Linked DNA regions of Homo sapiens: regions 1 and 3 are each linked to region 2. Evidence: promoter capture Hi-C in human tissues and cell types (Jung and others, 2019). All regions are on one chromosome and are shown on one strand. Each heading gives the region's core, a stretch centred on a gene start or on the middle of the fragment in contact. The rest is flanking DNA. Distances are from core to core; before and after follow the strand shown.

The links. Contacts are between HindIII fragments. The study calls those that stand out against the background at their distance.
Region 1: a fragment that was not itself captured here is called in contact with the fragment with the promoter of CDKL3 in region 2 in 1 of the 25 tissues and cell types used here (dorsolateral prefrontal cortex).
Region 3: a contact is called between a fragment that was not itself captured here and the fragment with the promoter of CDKL3 in region 2, in 2 of the 25 tissues and cell types used here (dorsolateral prefrontal cortex and spleen).

What each region holds. Positions count from the first base shown.
Region 1 is chr5:134,617,167-134,620,599 of GRCh38, reverse strand. All of the region lies in intron 3 of SAR1B (secretion associated Ras related GTPase 1B), which reads left to right. Among named protein-coding and RNA genes, the nearest start is that of SAR1B, 14 kb to the left of the region's middle. The HindIII fragment of the contact is 7,270 bases long and covers 1-3,433 here.
Region 2 is chr5:134,365,821-134,369,019 of GRCh38, reverse strand. CDKL3 (cyclin dependent kinase like 3) reads left to right here and starts at 1,849. Exons shown (of 13, transcript NM_001113575.2): 1 at 1,849-2,043; 2 at 2,476-2,661. The coding sequence starts at 2,497. The HindIII fragment of the contact is 10,082 bases long and covers 1-3,199 here.
Region 3 is chr5:134,573,767-134,577,053 of GRCh38, reverse strand. It overlaps JADE2 (jade family PHD finger 2), which reads right to left. Exons shown (of 12, transcript NM_001388185.1): 11 at 158-286. Among named protein-coding and RNA genes, the nearest start is that of JADE2, 50 kb to the right of the region's middle. The HindIII fragment of the contact is 9,141 bases long and covers 1-3,287 here.

The DNA.
Region 1 (3,433 bases), core at 65-2,564, 250 kb before region 2:
CGTGAGCCACTGCACCTGGCCAAGTTTTTTGTTTGGGGGGCATTTTCTGGTAGATAAATTATGATCAGGTGATTTGACCTGTTCCTAAAATAATAAATTATAGGTGACCTCGCTCCCAGGGAGAATATTTAGATCTTGAATTAGTACTCATACCTTTTTATCAGCTAGTACTCCCTTCTCTAGCTTGAGGAATTAAAAAGTTTTTGTCTGAGGGATTGTGACATGATTGGTAAATAGTCCACCATCGCCTTGTTTACATAACCTGAATTTTTTCTTTCAGATTTTTTTTTTTTTGAGGTGGAGTCTCACTCTGTCGCCCAGGCTGGAGTGCAGTGGCACGACCTCCGCTCACTGTAAGCTCCACCTCCCGGGTTCACGCCATTCTCCTGCCTCAGCCTCCCGAGTAGCTGGGACTACAGGCACCCACCACCACGCCCGGCTAATTTTTTGTATTTTCGGTAGAGACGGGGTTTCTCCGTGTTAGCCAGGATGGTCTTGATCTCCTGACCTTGTGATCCGCCTTCCTCGGCCTCCCAAAGTGCTGGGATTACAGGTGTGAGCCACCGCGCCCAGGCTTCTTTCAGATTTTAAAGCCATATTACTTTATTTTATTTGTGTAGAGACAGGGTCTTGCTCTGTCATGTAGGTTGGAGTGCCGTGGTATGATCATAGCGCACCATTTAAACTCCCAGGTGCAAGTGATCCTCCTGCCTCTGCCTCCCAAAGTGTTGGGATTAAAGATAGGAGCCATTGCACCATGTACTATTTTAAGCACTAATTCAGTAGATACATTACAATTTTATACATGGCTGGTAACTCAATTTGTTAACCAGTTATTTTTCTAGTCTTAATAACCTCAACAATATCTAATGTACACCACAGAATTAATCTAAAGAAAACAAGGCATATATTGACACACAGGAAGTTTTAAAACAAGGGTGGGTGTGGTGGCTCATGTCTGTAATCCCAGCACTTTGGGAGGCTGAGGCAGGAGAATCACTTGAGCCCAGGAGTTTAAGACCAGCCTGGGCAACATACTGAGACTCCATCTCTACAAAAACAAAAACAAAAAATTAGTCTGGCATGGTGGCATACACCTGTAGTCCTAGGTACTTGGGAGGCTGAGGCAGGAGGATCACTTGACCCTAGGTGTTCAAGGCTTCACTGAGCTATGATTGCACCACTGCACTCCTAACCTGGGCAACAGAGTGAGACCCTGTCTCTAAAGAAACAAAAAATACCAAAAAAATTGAAAGTTTTTTTTTTTTTGAGATGGAGTCTTGCTCTGTTGCCCACGCTGGAGAGCAATGGCACGATCTCGGCTCACTGCAACCTCTGCCTTCTGAGTTCAAGCAATTCTCCTGCCTCAGCCTCCCAAGTAGCTCAGATTACAGGCATGTGCTACCACACCCAGCTAATGTTTTGTATTTTTAGTAGAGACGGGGTTTCAACATGTTGGCCAGGCTGGTCTCAAACTCCCGACCTCAGATGATCCGCCCACCTCAGTCTCCCAAAGTGCTGGGATTACAGGCATGAGCCACCACACTTGGCCAAAAATAATGTTTTTTAATAATGACTCTAATTTTTTTTTTTTCCTTTTTTGAGACAGAGTCTCACTCTGTTGCCTAGGCTGAAGTGCAGTGGCACCATCTCGGCTCCCTGCAACCTCTGCCTCCTGGGCTCAAGCAATTCTCCTGCCTCAGCCACTGGAATAGCTGGGATTACAGGCATGTGCTACCAAGCCCAGCTAATTTTTGTATTTTTAGTAGAGACCAGGTTTCGCCATGTTGGCCAGGCTGGTCTCGAACTCCTGGCCACAAGTGATCCACCTGCCTTGGCCTCCCAAAGTGTTGGGATTACAGGCGTGAGCCACCACACTTGGCTGACTCTGTAAATTATTTAATAAATTTTATTTTGCATTTAAGGTTATGTAACGAATTTGAGAATAAAGTTAATGTTAAAGTGGGTAAATTATTAGAAACAGAAACCTAATTTAACCTGTGACCTTACTTTTACAGGTGAAAATTTTATGAATCAGATAGACACAGAGTTTAAAGACAAGTTAATCTATAGATTAATTATGAAATAGTAAGTGTAGCCTTAATAATGAATATAAAATTGAGAACTGGACCAAAAAGTAGATAATACTGTAATTATTTAGTCCAGTAAATGTTCAAAGAACAAAGAATGAGGATAGAACAAAACAAAGTATTTTATCTATAAAACAATTAGTGAGGTTGGAAAAGGAAATTGACAAATCTTTTTTTTCTTTTTATTTTTTTTGAGATGGAGTCTCGCTCTGTCACCCAGGCTGGAGTGCAGTGGCACGATCTCGACTCACTGCAACCTCCGCCTCCCAAGTTCACACCATTCTCCTGCCTCAGCTTCCCGAGTAGCTGGAACTACAGGTGCCCGCCACCACGCCTGGCTAATTTTTTGTATTTTTAGTAGAGACAGGGTTTCACTGTGTTAGCCAGGATGGTCTCGATCTCCTGACCTCGTGATCTGCCCGCTTCGGCCTCCCAAAGTGCTGGGATTACAGGCGTCAGCCACTGCGCCCGGCCAACAAATCTTTTTTTTATATTAGGAGAAAAAAGTGGGGCTTGGCAAGTAAGATTCTGATATAAGAACAATTCTGTTAAAGAAAAAATGATCATGGTGAAATTGAGTAGATAAAATTGTCTGCAAAAACAGCGTAATTTCCAACCTGGCCAACATCGTGAAACCCGTTCTGTACTAAAAATACAAAAATTAGCCGGACACGGTGGCACGTGCCTGTAATTCCACCTACTCGGGAGGCAGAGACAGGAGAATTGCTTGAACCCGGGAGGCGGAGGTTGCAGTGAGCCAAGATGGCGCCACTGCATTCCAGCCTGGGCGACAGAGGGAGACTCTGTCTCGAAAAAAACAAAAAACACAGAAAAAAAACCCAACAAAAACCAGCATAACTGGAAGAGACTACAGAGTGGTCTTAAATATTAGGTGTAAGTCATTTTTTAATTTTTTGACGTTGCTCTATTTCATTTATTCAAATATTTATTGAGCACCTACTTTATGTCAGACATTGTTCTGGATACTAGGGGAAAACAGATGCTATCTCAACCTTTCCTGCAGCTCACATTCATTTCAACTCATATTTTTTAATTAATCAAAAGCATATGTGATCTATTCTGGTGTGGAAAAGAAAACATTTTTGAAAAGGAAAAAAAAGCATATGTGAAAACCTACATATATCCTATGATCTGGCAGTTCTACTCCTAGTTACTTACCCGAGAGAAATGAGAAAATACATTTACCAAAAACCTTGTACAAAAATGTTTATACTAGCTTTATTTGTTGGTGGTGAGTTATTATTATTTTTTTTTTTTGAGTCAGTGTCTCACTCTGTGGCCCAGGCTGGAGTGCAATGGCACAATCGCGGCTCACTGCAGCC
Region 2 (3,199 bases), core at 600-3,099:
AGTTTTGCTCTGTCACCCAGGTTGGAGTGCAGTGGTGTGAACAGGGCTCACTGCAGCCTTGACCTTCTGGGCTCCAGTAATTCTCCTTCAGACGCCCAAGTAGCTGGGACCACAGGTGTGCACCACCATGCCCGGCTAATTTTTTGTAGAGATGGAGTTTTGCCCTCTTGCCCAGGCTGGTCTGGAACTCCTGGGCTCAAGTGATCTGCCCACCTTGGCCTCCCTGGGATTACAGGTGTGAGCCACTGTGCGCAGCCTCCTTGCAAATATTTAGCCCACAACAAATAATATGCTTACACCAAGTTTGAGCCCACTATAAGATTTACTATGACATTCTTATTTATAGAAGGTATTTTATATTGTGGTTGAATAACTTTCTTTTTTTTTTTTTTTTTTTTTTTGAGATGGAGTCTCGCTCTGCCACCCAGGCTGGAATGTAGTGGTGCGATCTCCGCTCACTGCAAGCTCCGCCTCCCGGATTCACGCCATTCTCCTGCCTCCGCCTCCCGAGTAGCTGGGACTACAGGCGCCCGCCACCACGCCCAGCTAATTTTTTCTATTTTTTAGTAGAAATGGGGTTTCACCGTGTTAGCCAGGATGGTCTCGATCTCCTGACCTCGTGATCCGCCCGCCTGGGCCTCCCAAAGTGCTGGGATTACAGGCGTTAGCCACTGCGCCCGTCTGAATAACCTTCAAAGAAAAGACAATTCTGAATATTTTAGGTGATCAATGAAAACGATGACCACTTCTCCTTTCTCTCAATATAAACCCTAGCAGCATAGAAAAAACTTGAGAAGCTTCAAAAATACTAATTTATTTACGCTATCCCAATTAAATCAGGTGCTCTGGCATTGGGGCAGGGGTGTGGAGGTGGGGGTTGGGATGCTTTCTAAAAGCTCTCCAGGTGTGATTTAAATATGCATGCTGGGTGGGACCCACCAGACTAGATTTATTAAATAATGCCTTTCCTCTTATTTAGCGGAAGCATAGCGAGATTTCGCTTTTTTACATTTAACTCATTTTATAGAAGAAAGCAAAGAAAGCCCTATTCAATAAAGAAAGCACTCCCTAGGCACTTGGTCTAGTGATATGGTGGTTATTCATTAGGGACTGTCATTCCAGTTGAACTCTATGTCTACTTAAGCAGTTAGACACTGGCCTCTTTATTTCCGTGCTCTTGTACATCATTTCGTATATGGTGGAACTCTTCGAATTACTTGCTTTCCTAGAGTTTGACATGTGGTGAGGGAGGTTTTTTTTCTTTAAAAAAGATTACTAGCAGTTGGAAAAAATTAAAAGGCATATGGCAAGTGTTCAAGAAAAGTTTTTGATTTAAGAACCATCTTGACCGGGGGCGGTGGCTTACGCCTGTAATCCCAGCACTTTGGGAGGCCGAGGCAGGCGGATCACCTGATGTTGGGAGTTCGAGACCAGCCTGGCCAACATGGTAGAAACCCCGTCTCTACTAAAAATACAAAATTATCCGGGCGTGGTGGCACACGCCTGTAATCCCAGCTACTCGGGAGGCTGAGGCAGGAAAATCACTTAAACCTGGAAGGAGGAGGTTGCAGTGAGCCAAGATCAGCGACACTGCAGTCCAGCCTGGGCGACAGAGCTAGACTATCTCAAAAAAAAAAAAAAAAAAAAAAAAGATGCAGATCCTTCCTATCCACATTCAAAAGCAACCTTGTGAGGAGGCTCAGCTGCGACAGCAATCTGTACTCCCCTCCCCCATTCCCAAGCACAGCACTCTTCCACCTTGCGCCTACCCAGAGTAGGTTTCCGTTTCTTCCCACTTCCCCTTCCGGGTCGGGACCCTGCCCATGTTCCGGTCTTGCGCACGAGTCTAGAACGCAGCAACTCCGCCGGCGTTTCCATGGTGGCAAGTGGCCGGTTCCTTGCGGGGCTGAGCAACAAAGTAGTATCAGTGTTCGGTGGCTCCACTGGAACTACGCAGAGCCAGACCAGCGGGACCACAGAATGGGCTGAGGCGGCGGCGGCTGTTTGGATAAAGTCAACAGCGGGACGTGGGGCGTGACGCCGGTCCGGCATCCTAAGACGTGTGGTTTGAGTTGCGGGCGAGACCAGGCTTTTTTTAGGACCTTGGGCCTGATAAGTGGGCGACTGCAGTAGTGCGGGAACCTATTATTTGACAGGAACATGACAGGAAGTGTAGGGACCCCATGCTTGATGGATGGTGACTTATAGTGTGGTAGTCTCAGTGTTGATGGGCATGACCGAGACAGCAGGAGTACCCCTAAGTTCTGGTGAGAGGTGGAGCCTCAGAAGGACACCTTACTCAAGCTGTCTTTAGTTCCCAAAGACAAAAAGGCTCAGTGGAAAAGATTCCTTTTTTTTTTTTAATGTCTCTATATTTGAGACTGTGGGTTTATTGTGGATATGCATTATCTAGTTTTAATAAATAAAAGTATAAACGTTTAACATTTTCCATTTTCTTTCTTTATTTCTATAAAGTAGTAAAAGCCCAGCTTGAAAATGGAGATGTATGAAACCCTTGGAAAAGTGGGAGAGGGAAGTTACGGAACAGTCATGAAATGTAAACATAAGAATACTGGGCAGATAGTGGCCATTAAGATATTTTATGAGAGACCAGAACAATCTGTCAACAAAATTGCGATGAGAGAAATAAAGTTTCTAAAGGTTTGCTTCTTTTGCCTTAATCATCTAAGTCAAAAGAAAAAATTGTTATGGAATAAAAAATTGCATAAAATATTTTAGTTCACACGTACTGATTCATATTATGGAGAAACAAGTGTAATACTCTATCTTATCTACATTTTGTAATTTTATAGTGATACAAGATATATGTGTTTTGGGGTATGTAACAAAAGCTACACCAATATTGTTTAATAATTATTCAGAAATATTCAAGTATAATACTTAATAAAAATTTCTGCTATGTGCAAGGCATGGTGCTAGGTACTGAGACTATAAGGAGGTAAAAGATAGTTCCTGCCCTTAAAGACTTCTATAATTTAATCAGAAAGGAGAGTATATGAAAATCATACTGAATAAAAAGTGGCTCATAATAAATGCCAAGGAATCAACACAAAGTCCTTTCCCTGGTAGGGAAAGTTTTTTTGAGGAAATGGGACATGAATTTGGCTTTGAAGGATGTGGAGGGTTTAGATAAGAGGGAGAAACTGTTGTGTTCTAGGTTAGAGGAACAACATAAACT
Region 3 (3,287 bases), core at 788-3,287, 210 kb before region 2:
GGAAGGTGTGTGCACCTGGGCAAGCAAGGGCCTGGTTACCGCTCTTGAGCCTCAGTCTCCTACTCTGTGCAGCTGGCCTTCCGCAGGGCAGACAGAGCTGCAAGCGTGGTGATGGTCAAGCCTGCCGTGTCTGCAGGCCAGCATGGCCCTCACTCACCCAGCTGCCCCAGGACTGAGTCAGGCCCCGCCTTCACTTTCTCTTTCTTCTCAGTGCTGCCCTTGGAGCCCTCGCAGCCCTTCCTCTTCGAGTCACTCTTCTTGCCCTTTGCTCTCCTCCCAGACCGCTCTGTGTCAGGGAAAGTGAGAGGAGGAGGGAGATGGTTACCCTGAGTGGCCTCGGTCAGCACCAAGATCCCTGCGTGGCAGCCCAGGAGTCCTCCATCAGCCAGTGCTCACCCTCCACAGCAAAAAGGTTGGAGTTAGGGGATGGCTGGCATGGTGGGGTGGACCAACTGTCCACTGTGGCCTGTGGGGGACTTGGGGTGGCCACAGGGCCACGAGGAGAGGCCCTCGCAGGACCTGGACTCCAGTCTGACCTGCACAACCTGTAGTCTTGGGAGAGAGTGTGGGTGGTGGGAAGAATGGCTGGAAGGGAGTCTGGACAGGGCAGGGCCTTGAATGCCAGGCTGAGGAGCTAGACATGTAGGTGGAAGGAACACTACCTGAGGGGTCAAGAGGCTTGGGTTCCATTCCTAACCCCAGGGTCAGCAACCCTGAACCAGTCTCCTGCCATGGTCTCTTGGTTGGCTTTCAAAGTCAGGCAGCAAACTAGATGGGAGATTCAGGGTGCACCCCTGGCCCTTGTATCCTTTCAGTTCAGGCCAGGCCTCAGTCTCATCTGTTTTGGTTTGTTTTGAGAGAGAGTCTTGCTCTGTTGCCCATGATGGAGCGCAGTAGTACAATCATAGTTTACTGCAGCCTTGACCTCCCAGGCTCAAGCGATCCTCCAGCCTCAGCCTCCTGAGTAGCTGGGACCACAGGTGCATGCCACCACACCCGGCTAATTTTCAAATTTTGTAGAGACAGGGTCTTGCTATTTTGCCCAGACTGGTCTTGAACTCTTGGGCTCCAGTAATCCTTCCACCTTGGCCTCCCAAAGTGCTGGGATTACAGGTGCGAGCCACTGTGCCTGGCCACATCTGTTTATTTATTTATTTTTTAGAGACAGAGCCTGGCTCTGTTACCCAGGCTGGAGTACAGTGGTGTAATCATAGCTCGCTTGCAGCCTCAAACTACTGGGCTCAAGCAATCCTACTTCTGCTCCCCAAGCAGCTAGGAATACAGGCATGTGTCACCATGCTCAGCTAATTTTTGTATTTTTTTTTTTTTGTAGAGACAGGCTGGTCTGGAACTCCTGGCTTCAAGTGATCTTCCCACTGTGGTCTCCCAAAGTGCTGGGATTTTAGGCATGAGCCACTGTGCCTGGGCAATCTCATCTGTAACATGGCATGTAACTAATGCCTAGATACTCTGGAGGCAGGCTCCTGAGGCTCCCCACTGCTCTCAGGACAGTGTAAGCTCCTCCCCCAGGCTACAAGAAGATCTCGCACATGTGACCCAGGTTACCCGTCATCCCCACTTTAGGAGTCTTCCTTCTGCCTGGTGCAGCCATTCCAGCCTCCTTCCAGTTTCTCTGCCAAGACATGCTCTGGCCACTAAGTCTCCAAATATGCTGTTTTCTTCTCCTATCCTTCACCTGATTCAGTTCACAGGCCAAATATCATCTCCACTAGGAGGCTTTGTCCAGCCGCCAGGCCAGACAGCCTCGCCGATATGCACACAGCCCATGTCCCACCCCAGGCGTCAAGCCTCTCAACAGTGTGAGCAGCAGCTTTGGACAGGGCAAACCAGTCATCTCCAAATACCCTGCCCTGCCCTGAACAAAGAGCTGCCTGTTGTTGACACTCAAGACAAGGAGTTGCAAATGTCCCCAGAACCAATGTGGGGATGTGGACCCTCCAGGCTCTTGCCCATGCTTCTGGAATCCTGTGCCTGAGGGCACTGCTCGTGGCTTGCCACCCTCTGCTTCCTCAACTGTGGGTGCCTTGCATGGGCTTCTCCTTCTGCAGCCGATATGTGGCCACAGCCAAGTGCCTGAGATGTTGTTGGAGCATCACTGCTTCTGGGAAGACATCCCTGATACTTCTATCCCTAAACTGGCAGCAACTGTAGCGTCTGCGATACCACATTCCTCTCTCTCTCCAGATGGTGCATTCCACAAGGGCAGCAACCCTATCCAGTCCATGCTCAGTTAATGCTGGCTGAGTGAATAAACAGAAGATAGGGGGCCTGGAAAGCTCCAGCAGCCAGGAAGCTGCCACAGTCTTTGGGTACACGGTGAGCTCTACATGGTCATGACTAGCACCTGAACTTGGCAAGGCTAGATGTTGGGGCCAGAGTGGGTGGTGATGCCAAAGCACAATCAGGTCAGCTCAGCTCTGGGGCAGAAGTAGGGGCAGCAGAGGTCCTCAGTCATTTGCTCCAACGGTGGCTCAGCAGCTTTCCTCTCCAGGCCCAGCTCAGCCCTGAGGCTGAAGTGGCATTGGCAGACCCTGGCTCAAAATCTCTCTCCATCCAGCTATTTCTGCTGCATGTAAACGCAACACTGGGGTACTGTTTTGGGGGCTAAGTGTTGCCCTTCTTAACATGTATACGCTCCAAGAAGGGCCCTGTGTCTGGCAATATCCACAATTAACAGATACGATCAATGTCAGCGCTTCCTTCAGCCTTTGATTTCCAGATCCACTAAACGCATGTGACGCCAAGAGAATAAGAATAATAAGAATGAAACAGTGAAAAACACCGCGGATGCAGGGCATAAATCCTGTTAGGGTCAGAGAGAAACAACAGCCAGGTCCTGTCACATCTCTGGGACAGCTGCCTTCTTCGGAACTGACTCCCAGGCACACCAGGGTTCAGGGAAGCTCACCAGCTTCTGGCCCTTCCTGCCTCAGCACCAGCAGAGAGCCACTAGGACTTCTTCTCTGTACCTGTTCACATGCAATCAGCTCCTGAACTGCTGTGGCCTAGTCAACCAGAAAGCTCCCTGAGGGCAGGCCTGATGCCCACATTCCAACCTCTGGCTCTCTGCCTAGTGACGCACAACTCAGGACCCTTGCAGGCCCCCGTCTGGGCCTACTAATTGGATGGTGAAGGGTAGGAGTGGGGGCCAGTGGCCCTTGGCTCCACGCACATACCCCCACCAGGATCCAAAGACACACCCTCCTTGGGACCCAGCCCCGCAAGAGAGGGCACAGGGAGGTGGCGGCGGCAGGTGGGGAAGGCGC